Linked DNA regions of Homo sapiens: region 1 is linked to region 2. Evidence: promoter capture Hi-C in 16 types of primary human blood cells and fetal thymus (Javierre and others, 2016). All regions are on one chromosome and are shown on one strand. The core of a region is centred on a gene start or on the middle of the fragment in contact, and the rest is flanking DNA. Distances in the headings are between cores, read along the strand shown.

Region 1 (5,547 bases), core at 2,334-4,833, about 14 Mb before region 2:
AATTATACGTACTTAAGAATGTTTGCTGAATGAAGGCATATGAGTATTCATTATTACCTACAAAGCTATGCATGGATGCTTGGCTACTGAGCTTATCTTGCATTTTATAGGCAACAAGAATCTCATTATTGGCTCGTTAGTGAAAATATATGTGACATTTTTAAGACATTTTCAATATATAACAGCTCACTAACCAGGTCCTGGTGGGTATGGATGTGTACCTGCCACAAAGTATTCAACTTCTTGTCCTAAAAAAACACAAAAAAAATCAACAGTAGTGAATTTACCTTATACAAAAGTTATCATCTCTTTAAATGTATCAAGTAATATTAAGTTTTCAACTGGATCTATCAAATTTTCTCAACTAAAGTCAAGCCTCAGAAATAAGGGAAGTTGATCACTTTTGCTTTGATCTCTGTAAACCATGTCCTTGACCATTTGCTATATAGCAATGGTATACAAAGAAGCCCTCCTATCAAGTGACAATCCACTCTGGTATTTCTTCCAAGCAAATGGTTTCCTGTGGAATCTTGAATTCTCTTTACTTATTAAGATTTCAGTATTTAATTTCATCTTTCTGAATTACAGACAAGATAGATGGTGTCCTCACAGGTTAAGAATATTCTCCAATTTTTTCCTTTAATCTCTACTGTGACCTTCTCCACACTCTAAGAATCTCTGCCATCATTATACTACCATTTTTATTTCCTATAAGAAAAAAGTCATCAACAGTATTCCCATGAGGATCAAAACTTCCATTATAATACAGGTACGGCCATTAAATACTGTACGACCACAATAAGTCCTGCCAGGAGGGGCAAAAATAACATATTTTATTTTTCTGTTTTTAAAATTCACATATAAGTCTGACATTTCTGATAATACCATACTCACCTTGATTGGCAGGGTACTGTTTATGAACATATGAATCCGTTGCATTCTGAGGACCCTTCTCTTTAAGATTTTCTTTTGAAGTAGGCATATGCAACACAGGACCATACTCATTACGAAGCTTGATTGCCATTTTTCGTTTGTGACTATTTAGAAATTATAAACATAAGAACGTATCCATAAATACTTTAAAACAAACACTTAGCTTAAGTTTGCCCATTCACGTAGAAAAAGTTTCTAGTATGATTTTAAGTAGTATTTAAAAGAATCAAAAATTTCCAAGGGCATTTCCCCACCATATCTGTTCTTTTGCTTACATTCGACCACACAGCATTCATTAAACCTACGTAATATTTTAGTTTGTTACCTAATAAATAGAAAACCTTTTATGATAAATTGTCAAGGGTCTGACTGAAAGATATACAGAAACTAACATACCCTTTAAGAAACCTCAAAGTCAATATACTTTCCTTCAAAATATAAATATAGTAAAAACTCTATAGCAACCTTTACTAGATGTATCCAAACAGGTTAGTTAGAACTAATCAAAGTACTTAATTGGTTCAATATCTTAAAAAGAAATGCATTTATATTACTTTTAAAAATAGTCTACTTTATAAATTAAATATAAATGCTTGTTTGAGGAGTTAAGTAGATTTTAAAAAGGTAAAGGACAAAGAAGGAACACTGCACATAATGCATTCCCAGACTGGAGCTGGATATGTAGAACCAAAAATATGCCACCACTCAAAAATCTTCATCATACTAACGAGAAAAGATGGGAGTAGAGGTACTAGCCAGGTACAATTTCAGCTCAGCAAGGCTCTGAGAGCAGCGGGAAGCTGAAAGCACATACAAAGTGATTGATTATAAAATAAAATACCTAAAAGGGACTCTCTTAATTACTGGGTATTTGTAAAATGCAATTAATTAATGGAACTTTTACTGTAAAAGGCCAAAAAAAAAAGTTAAATCAGCTTAAATTATGCCAAAACACCACTCATTATTGAATAATTAGCCCATGACTAGCTTATCTTTAAAGGACTCCCTCTCCCTGCTCTCTTCCCCTAGTATTAGAATGTTAAGTATTTTAGCAATTGAAAAAAAAAAACTACACCAACCTCTCTTCATCTAAAGGCACAGGTTTTCCATTATCAGCTACAAACATGTCATGGGTCCTCTTCAACGACCTGAACACAAGGGTGTGTACAGAATGTTTCTGTACCTCCTAAAAAAAAAGAATGTAATTACACACCTATCTACAAATTACACAAATCATAACCTAAAGTCAGATTGATTATACACTTCACGTGTTTAAATATGTAAAAAGCTTTATACCACTCACCATAGCTACTTGTTGCAAGCTACAGGAGTCAAGTTCAGAGAAGAGGAGGAAGCTCCTCTTTGGCTAGAACCTCAGGTTTAGCAACTGAGTGATGCCGGAGTTTAACTTACTCAATAAATATTTACTGAGCTCCTACTGTGTGTCTGGCAGGTATTGTGCTAGAATCTCACAATAGAATGATAAAAAGGTGGTCATGGTCCCTGTGCTCAAGAGGAAACAGACAAATAAAAAGTAAAATAATTCCACATTTTGATAAGTGCTATGAAGGCAACAAGCAAGGCGCTGAGTCAGGGAATGAAGGACTAAGTATAATTGTGAAAGATTTCACTAAGGTGATATTTAAGCAGAAAGGGAGTTAGCCTTGCACAAAACAGAGGTAAGAACGAACCAGGCTGATGGAAATGTCATGTAAAAAAAAGTTCAGTTAACTGAAATAATACAAGGAGCGCAGTACAGCTGTGTATGGAGGATGAGATGGTGCTTTGTAGCTGCAAGGGTAGACAAGGTCCAGATTAGGTAAGGTCTTTTAGACTATTACAACAGCCTATATTTTGTTCTAGCAACATAGGGTCAGTAAAGGGTTTTAAACAAGAAAGGTATGAACAACTTACGTTTTAAACAGAACAACTTATAGAACAAAATGGAAGCAAGGAAACCAACCAACGGGGAGCTAATGCACCAGTCCAGGTGAAAGATGATGTTGGTCTCAATTAAGGTGGACTGCAGCGGATATGGAGAAGAGTGAATGGAATCAATAAACATGTGGGGTAAGATGGACAAGACCAGCTAACAGCGTTGGCTGTTCATGCCAGGGAAAGATGTAAAGAACGGCAAGTTTTTCTGGGGGTAGAGGTGAAATAAGAGACGACCTGAACGCAAGATAGAGAAGACTACCAATCTTTTAGGGCACAGACTCACTGACACTGCCCCGAGGGCGGCAAGTACCAGTGGTCGATCACCAACAGAGGCCCCGCCTCCGAGGACACTTTCCAGCTCCCAAGAGTCAAACGAGGACTGGACGAATTATCTCAGGCTTCGCGCCCAGGCTGAACCTCCGACTCGGGTTCTCATCCGGCTTCTACCCCTTCCCCGAAAACCCGAAGAAGAGACCACTCGGCCTTGGCCAAATAGCTCCCCTCGTAGCCTCTTTTCTCTCTGGACTCCAAGTACTCTCAATCCCCCACGCGCACTGCCAAAAAAAACAGTCCAGAGACAAACGACTCTTGAGAGCCCCAGTGTCACTTTACCTCGACCATGATGCTACCGTGTATCCCACCTCCGGCAGGGAAGAAACTCTAATCACTAACGCAGTACCCGCCGCCACAGCTGTGCAGCACCTTCCGGAATTGGGCGCCCAGGCGGCGGATGTGATGCAAGCTCTGCGCACGCGCGCTAGTCTCCCTCGGCCATCTAGGATCAGGAGGCGGGTCTCCCTCCTCGGGACCGCCTCTAGGGCGGAGTCTCGAGGCTGAAAGCCGGAGACTCCTGGAAGGGCCTGGGTGGAGGGTTTCACTCGTCCCTCTGAAGAAATCTTAGAATTATGTTTTCTGCCTTAGTTGGGGTCCTGGTTGTTCGTGCTGTATTCCCCGGAAGCTTAACGCTTTTTATTCAGAGAACCTAAGCGTCTGGAGAGCAAACTCCCGTGGGCTCTATCTAAGGCATTTCCACTACCTTGATCTCTTTGGAGGTCGCCTGCGTGCTTTGTGTCTCCTGGTTCTAATCCTGGCGAGAAGCACTTGGACACTTGTAGGCTTAACACCTGAAAACAATTTCGCTTAAACAGTCCAGTAAACACTTGTTAAGTGAACGTTGAGGAATAGCTGTTTTAATTTGGAAAATTTTGACATGTAGTTATAACAAAACCCCATATTTATTTTCTGCTAATAGATTTTTTTTTTTAATTTCTCAAAACTGCATAGCTCTTGTCCATTTCCTAGTTGCCTGCTGATTATTGTGGCTTCAACAATGCCAGGGTACAGCTTTTCAAAGCTGGTAGAAGACACAATTGGAGACTTTAGCCATTTTTATTTATACATATCCTTGTGCCAAGTATTGGTATTTTTGCTTTCTACCCTGGTAAAATCTGTGGTTTGTGATCAACCCTACCCAATTATTTTTCTATGTAAAAAAAAAAATGGATGGACTTAGGCATTTACAAACTTAAATAGACAAACATTTTACTGGCCCTGTTTCAGTTTCACTAATCCTGTCCTGAGAGCATACTGCTTACACTTTGAGAGGGGGAAAAAATCTAGCAAAAGAATAGCAATATAAATCAACCTTACTTGGAAATTCATTAAAAACATTAAGGTCATGGGTTTTTGTTTGAGACAGAGTTTCGCTCTTGTCGCCCAGGCTGGAGTGCCATGGCGCGATCTTGGCTCACTGCAACCTCAGCATCCCAGGTTCAAGCTATTCTCCTGCCTCAGCCTCTGGAGTAGCTGGGATTACAGGCGCCCGCCACCATGCCCGGCTAATTTTTGTATTTTTAGTAGAGACAGCGTTTCACCATGTTGGCCAGGCTGGTCTTGAACTCCTGACCTCAGGTGATCCGCCCGCCTCGGCCTCCCAAAGTGCTAGGATTACAGGCATGAGCCACTGAGCCCTGCCTTAAGGTCATGTTTTTACTTGAAGATACAGCATCTCTGAATTTAACTGTGAGTTTGGCCTAAGAATTGCTTTTCTGTAAAGGTGGCAGGTGATGGTATTTCCTTGCAAGAAAATACCATAATTGTAAAATATATACTTGATGAACTAAATAATATACTCACCTATTAATAATAACTATAGAAAATAACATGATTTGAAATGACAATAAAACCATAGAAACCTAAGCAAGACTAATATATATGGCAATATATTAATTGTCTAGTTGGATCTATTAACTTTTTACATATTTAATCATCCTGGAGACATTAATTTAATTTCTCAATAACAACATGGTAATGATTGAGGTAAATTGCCTCGAATTTGCTCCTTTTAAAACACTGTCGTGAATTTATAGAATGATGTCATCCCCTTGAAAGTTTACAATATTTTAGATAAATATAGAACTCAAGTGACCCTATTATTTAGTTCAGGGATTCATGAATTATGTATATTGTAGGAAAATTTTGTATTTATATGGGAATATGTTTTATTTTCTGGAGAAAGGATCCACAAGTTTAATTGGATTCCTGAAAGGCTCCGTCATACACACATGGCCTGGCTGACACCCGAAGCTGCCTTATTTGAACAGCAGGTGTCACCACTGCTCTTTGTACGGGCCCTCAGGGCTGTCCTTAAAGCAGACACGGCAAGTAACTTATTAA
Region 2 (5,637 bases), core at 3,071-5,570:
GAAAATAAAAAGCAGATGGTATACTATTATTTCCAAATTACCAAACTGAAATAAAATTTCAAGTCATTTTGCATTTTAAGTTCTACAGGCATATACTCCACAGCTTATCTGCCCTGTGGGTTAGATGAACTGAAAACTAGGGGTTACTTACATCCATTCTTAAAAACAGAGAAATTTTATCTTCCTTTAAACCTCTACACAAGATTTAACAGTAACCCATGAAACTGCTGTAGACAATATTATTTAGCCACCACTGTCTACTTTAATTCCTTGTCCATGTTTTAAAAATCAGGTTCCTGGCTGGGCACGTGGCTCACCTCTATAATCCCAGCACTTCGGGAGGATCACTTGAGCCCATGAGTTAAAGACCAGCCTAGGCCACATAGTGTGACCTCGTCTCTATTTAAAAAAAAAAAAATTCACATAAAAATCAGAATGATCCAATTTCTCTTGAAAAATCAAAATTGCTGGCAAAACTGGGACCACATTCTTGCACGGCAACAATCTACTGAATCTAAGTGGTGGCCTCCACCATTCCATATGGGCTCTGGACAATGAAGCTGGATATCATTTATCACATGGCTGGTACTGTCATTTTTCTAGTACTCAGTGGTGTCACTCATTTAACACCTGCCTGACTCCTATAGGGATGTGAATGTGTGATTCTTATTTTACTCATTAATCAATTAATTAAATCCTTTTTTCCACAGATAATATAAATTTCATTCATGTTTCACAATAAATCACAAATTCGTGGATTAAATATTTTTATGGTATGGTATTATGGGATAATCATAAATTCACAAAGGTGAAGACTCACCTACATTAACAATAGACCCTCCCTGTTGTTGAATCATAGTCCTCATGGCAGCTTTACAGGTCAGCATGGAACCCAAGAGGTTAGTATGAAGCTGAGATACCATATCTTCAGTTTTTGTTCTTACTAAAAGACCATCCCTACAAAAAGAAACAGCATATAATAGCATATAATAACAAGATAAAAACCAAAAAGGTCAAGACTAATGTAACATTTTTACTGAGAGTGCAAGAAGTGCTTCCTATCTGAGCTAGAATAGCTAGAATACCTAGAGTCCCATTTTGAACTTGGCTTGAGAAACATTAAAATAACAATTGATAAACCAGAAAGGATCCACTTGGAAGACAGGTTGCTACCCCTTCTCAGCTTGAGTGGCAAATATTCTTAACCCCTAAAAAGTAGTAACATATAGCCAAAATAGTTTGAATGGCCTGAGCAACTGCCATACTAAGCCTTGTTTAGCAAGAAAATTAATATGTTATCTAAATATTCTCTCCTAAATTCATCTTTTAAAAAATAATATCCACTCCATGATTCTATTAGTATTAAGTTCACAAACTGGCAAAACTTATCTGTGGTGACAAAACTCAGAAAACAGTTACCAACAAGGAAGTATTGAGAAGACACTACCTTCTGGAGCACTGGAAACATTCTACGGCTCAATATGGGTGATGATTACAATGTTAAAATCGACTCAACTGGACATTTATTATATGTTGTATCTCAATATAAAGGAAAATAATTTATGGATTGACAAGTTTTAAAATAGTTTTTTCTCCCAGTTAGAAGCAAAATAAACATATTAACTTATACCAATCAAAGACATATTAGGAATAAAAGTTTTAAATATATATATAAGAAACTTATTTAAATCTGTGACCAACCTGTTAATACCAGCTGCATTTACCAAGAAATTTACTCGACCTAAATGTTTCTCCAGCTCTTCAAATGTATTTTGAACATCATGTTCTTTAGCAACATCACAGCTAAATGCCAAATGATCTCCTACACAACAAAGTTAAATAAGAATTACTTATAACTCAAATTTTAAATTTACTCAATACACATTTGTTAAGCATCTATCTAAGATGGCAGGCCTGTGCTAATCTAGAACCTAAAGATTAAAAAAGTAATGTCATGAGGCCTGGCTTTCATAGAGTTGGTCTAATGAAACTGGGATGCGGGAACAAAGAGGAAATAAAGTACTACTACAGAAAGTTAATTTTAAAATTTTCTTTTTAATCAACAAAGGGGGGAGGGCTTTTTCAAGTTATAAAGGCTCTGTAAGATTCATCTAATATTTATAGCTTTAACACTGAATTCATGCTACCCAATTCGACAGTCTTCTGGGTTTTATATTCCTTTTTTGAAATTTATGTCTAATTCTGTCAGGTTTTTGTTGAATTAGTTTCTTTGGCCCTGAACGGGAACTCTTGGGTTTCTTCTTTTTAAGTGCTACGGATGCACTATGGCACATATATTATAACGACTATTATTCAAACCTGACCATCAGGAGAGATGAGACAACACAGGAAGCTATAAAAATGCTAAAACTACAAACCACGGGGGGAAAAAAACACTTTTTACTAAAAGCAACTGTTACTTACCACTTTTAAAAAATGGTTAAATGCCAAAAAAAAACTACACTTCAAAGGAAAACAAAGCATTCCCTATGTAATCTACCATTTTAATACTCTAAAATGTAGGATTGTTTTTAAAAGCTAAAACAATTCTTTATTTTCTGTCTGACCTTGATAAATATGCTTACACCAACACTACCCCATCAAGCCTTTGGAAACAGTAAGCGACCCGGGGAATTATACTTTCTAGATGAAAACCAATCACTCATGGAACACGATTCAAAGGAATGCAGGGCCCAAAAGCATCCTGTGTCTCTCTTACTCTTGGTTTTCACCCGAAGACTTGTGTCCACAACCACCTTTGAAAGCCCAACTAATGGCTTCAATCCAGTCCAGCAAACACTGATGGCTTGGGGTGACACAGTAAGGGTCACCACTCTTCCCCTCCTTTGTTAGAATGGTAAGGAATATGAGCTTCAAGAAGCATTCACTGACACTCTCCCTGACCTATAACTTACAGAATCTTTTTTCTTTTAGAGAGCCCAATAGTCTCCCAACCAGCACTGAACAGGTGATACCAAACCGATCAATAATGTTAACTTAAAAATGAACAGCCACACCTGGCGTCTATAGTCCCAGGTCCTTGGGAGACTGAGGCGAGAAGATCTCTAGAGCCAGTAAATCAGGAGTTGGGGTCCAGCACGGGCAACATAATGGGAAGCCCTCTCAAAAAAAAAAAAAAAAAACCAGATACACAAAAACAGTAAGAGCCACAAGACGCACCCCTAGGCCTCTATTCTCCCCATGCCTCCCTGATAGTAAATGAAGTATAATTTTGTCCATTCTGGTGATTAAACAAATAGCATCTTCGGATCTAACGTCCTATTTCTCCCTAAACTCAATGAAGAGTTATATTCACAAAATGACTAATCCATTCATAATAAGCCGGAAATAAAAAACCCTGAAGTTTAAATGCAATAAAAAAGAATTTGGCAGAACAAAGTTCAATTGTCCATTTGCAAAACTCACCAAAACAATTTAATAACATTAAAGCAAACCAGGTATATCTCAAAACTGGCTGGTACTCAAAAGGGTTTCTCTATCAAACACTGCTTTGTGCATTCGCGCAGGGCCAAGGCACGGCCCTTGGGCAAAACTGAAGGGAGCCGTTGGTACCTGCACTCCCACCTTTCCTGCCTGAACTCCTTTCGACCCAGCCCTGTCTCCGGGGGCCGAGAACTCGCCCTTTTCCCTACATTAAAAGTAAACTGTTACGTGGCTCTCTCCCACAACAGGGAAGCTCCTCAGCGTTAGCACTAGCCGCAGGGCGGAGGGTGCGTATAGCGGGGCCTCAAAAGACTACGAGGTCTCAAAGAACACCCCAAGTGTTCAGCCCTCGGCGGCAAGCTGCGTGGCCGGCATTCTGCGAGGCATAGGGAGATCGCGGGTTTCTGCACGAGACGCATTCTACCCTTGGAACGGGAGAGCGCCTGCACGCGGCTACATCGAGTAACCCTAGAGCCCTAAAGGCCAGACCCGCTCTTTTTACAAAGGAGATTTTCTTTAGGCGCCTGGACCGCGGCCATACAACTGGACAACTCCAGTTTGGTACCTACCGCCGAGGTCACCGGCGGCGGCTTTGGCCCCTTCCAGGTTTCTGGCAATGACCGCCAGTCGGTAGCCTTTCCGGGCCATTAACTGGGCCACAGCTCTGCCAATGCCTCGGGAGCCTCCAAAAACAGCACACACTTTGTCCATCTCGGAGTCACAAACTCGGAGGAAAGAGGGTAGGGAGTGGGAGCCCCTCTCCAGGTTCCCTCAGGCTTTTAAACAACCGCGGTTCCAAAAAAAAAAAAAAGAAAAAAAAAGGCAAACCGCAAAAAAAAATAACGCCGCTCGACACCTCCTGCAGCCGCACAATAGTAATGCAAGACGCCGTGAAAAGGAGGAAGAGCTCGACGTCGCCGCGTCGACGTCATCACGCACGGACTCTTCCGCGCCACACCTAACAAATACGCCGACGAGAGCTCCCCGCCGGCGGAAGAATGGCCTGGAGAGGGCCTCGATGCTTGCTGGGACCTGTAGTCTTGACGCATGAGAGCAACTGGCGCAGGCGCGCTGCTCGGTGGGGAATGTACTTGTGGCACTGAGGGGGATCCTCTGTCCCCGCTGGGTCATATCAGTCGGGATTCGAGCCCCGGTGACCAATCGACCCGGTTTGTTCGGAACTGACAGGGTTGTCAAGACGCTGGGCTTTCCCTGGCAAACCAAGACGACCTGATCACGTAGTTAGAACCCAGAGAAAGCATTACTGGGCGTGAGCCGGTCGGGGCTCCGGTATTTGCCCTTCGCCCAGGTGTTGTTTTGGCTACAGACTTGATGTCCTACCTGTTGAAGAAGTCCCCAAGAATCGCACCCACACCAAAACCTACCCTACCTGTTCCTCCCCCAGGTTGCTGTAGAAATGGACCTCTACCCGCCCAGATGTTACCATTCATCGCGAAGGGTGTCGTGAAGATGAATGCCCTGTCGAACATCATCCAGCAGGAGGTCAAGGAATTTTAACTGAATGATTGAATAGTCTTGCAAGATCTATGAAACAAGCTTCGGCTGCTGTAGAGAAACAAAAATGGGTTCCTGCAATTCTAAATAAGATGTACTGGGTGCTCTGAGAGTTAATAAGCTAAAAAATTCAATGTTTGTTACAATTATAGTGTAAACAGAAAGCATTTCTGATACAATATTATTTTACTAGATTCAGAAAAGTATGAGCCATGGTCCCTACCACTAAAAAAACTACAACCCAGAACTACAGGACTAATACACATGAAACACTAGGAGGTATCCAAAATCATACTTAGTAAAATGCAAAATTATATTAACACAAGAGCTCCGAGAAAATGGAGATCAGTGAAGAATGAAGGGGTGCATGGAAAAGCTGGATTTGAGGGCTGGATGAGGTTTGAAAAAAGGAAAACAAGAGCAAAAAGTCTATAAATAAGCAAGTTGAGCATTAATTTAAATTTGTTATTCCTATTCCATTTAGATCCAAAAAAAGATTTGAAATGGTTTGCAAAAATACATGAGTATTTGAATTTAAAAGGCAAAGAGGACCACTGCCCCTTCTCCCACAAGGCCAGAACAATAAATTAGGTCAGTGGAAAAAATACGAATAAAGTCATGCTATAAGAATCTATTTAGTATTAAAGAAGAGATTCATAAACTTAGAGTTTCCTGCCA

Evidence for each region. The method cuts DNA at HindIII sites, captures the fragments that hold promoters and counts their contacts. A CHiCAGO score of 5 or more calls a contact.
Region 1: the fragment with the promoter of PLRG1 here is called in contact with the fragment with the promoter of CBR4 in region 2 in 1 of 17 cell types (activated CD4 T cells); the score reaches 6.2 in activated CD4 T cells.

The regions. Positions count from the first base shown.
Region 1 is chr4:154,546,817-154,552,363 of GRCh38, forward strand. PLRG1 (pleiotropic regulator 1) reads right to left here and starts at 3,584. Exons shown (of 15, transcript NM_002669.4): 1 at 3,484-3,584; 2 at 2,013-2,119; 3 at 895-1,037; 4 at 195-248. The coding sequence starts at 3,492. RefSeq lists enhancers at 3,688-3,737, 3,758-3,917, 5,301-5,547. The HindIII fragment of the contact is 1,608 bases long and covers 2,220-3,827 here.
Region 2 is chr4:169,005,935-169,011,571 of GRCh38, forward strand. CBR4 (carbonyl reductase 4) reads right to left here and starts at 4,321. Exons shown (of 5, transcript NM_032783.5): 1 at 4,014-4,321; 2 at 1,702-1,822; 3 at 821-957. The coding sequence starts at 4,155. It overlaps CBR4-DT (CBR4 divergent transcript), which reads left to right and starts at 4,495. Exons shown (of 2, transcript NR_185919.1): 1 at 4,495-4,522; 2 at 4,850-5,126. RefSeq lists enhancers at 3,322-4,271, 4,371-4,700. The HindIII fragment of the contact is 6,180 bases long and covers 1-4,999 here.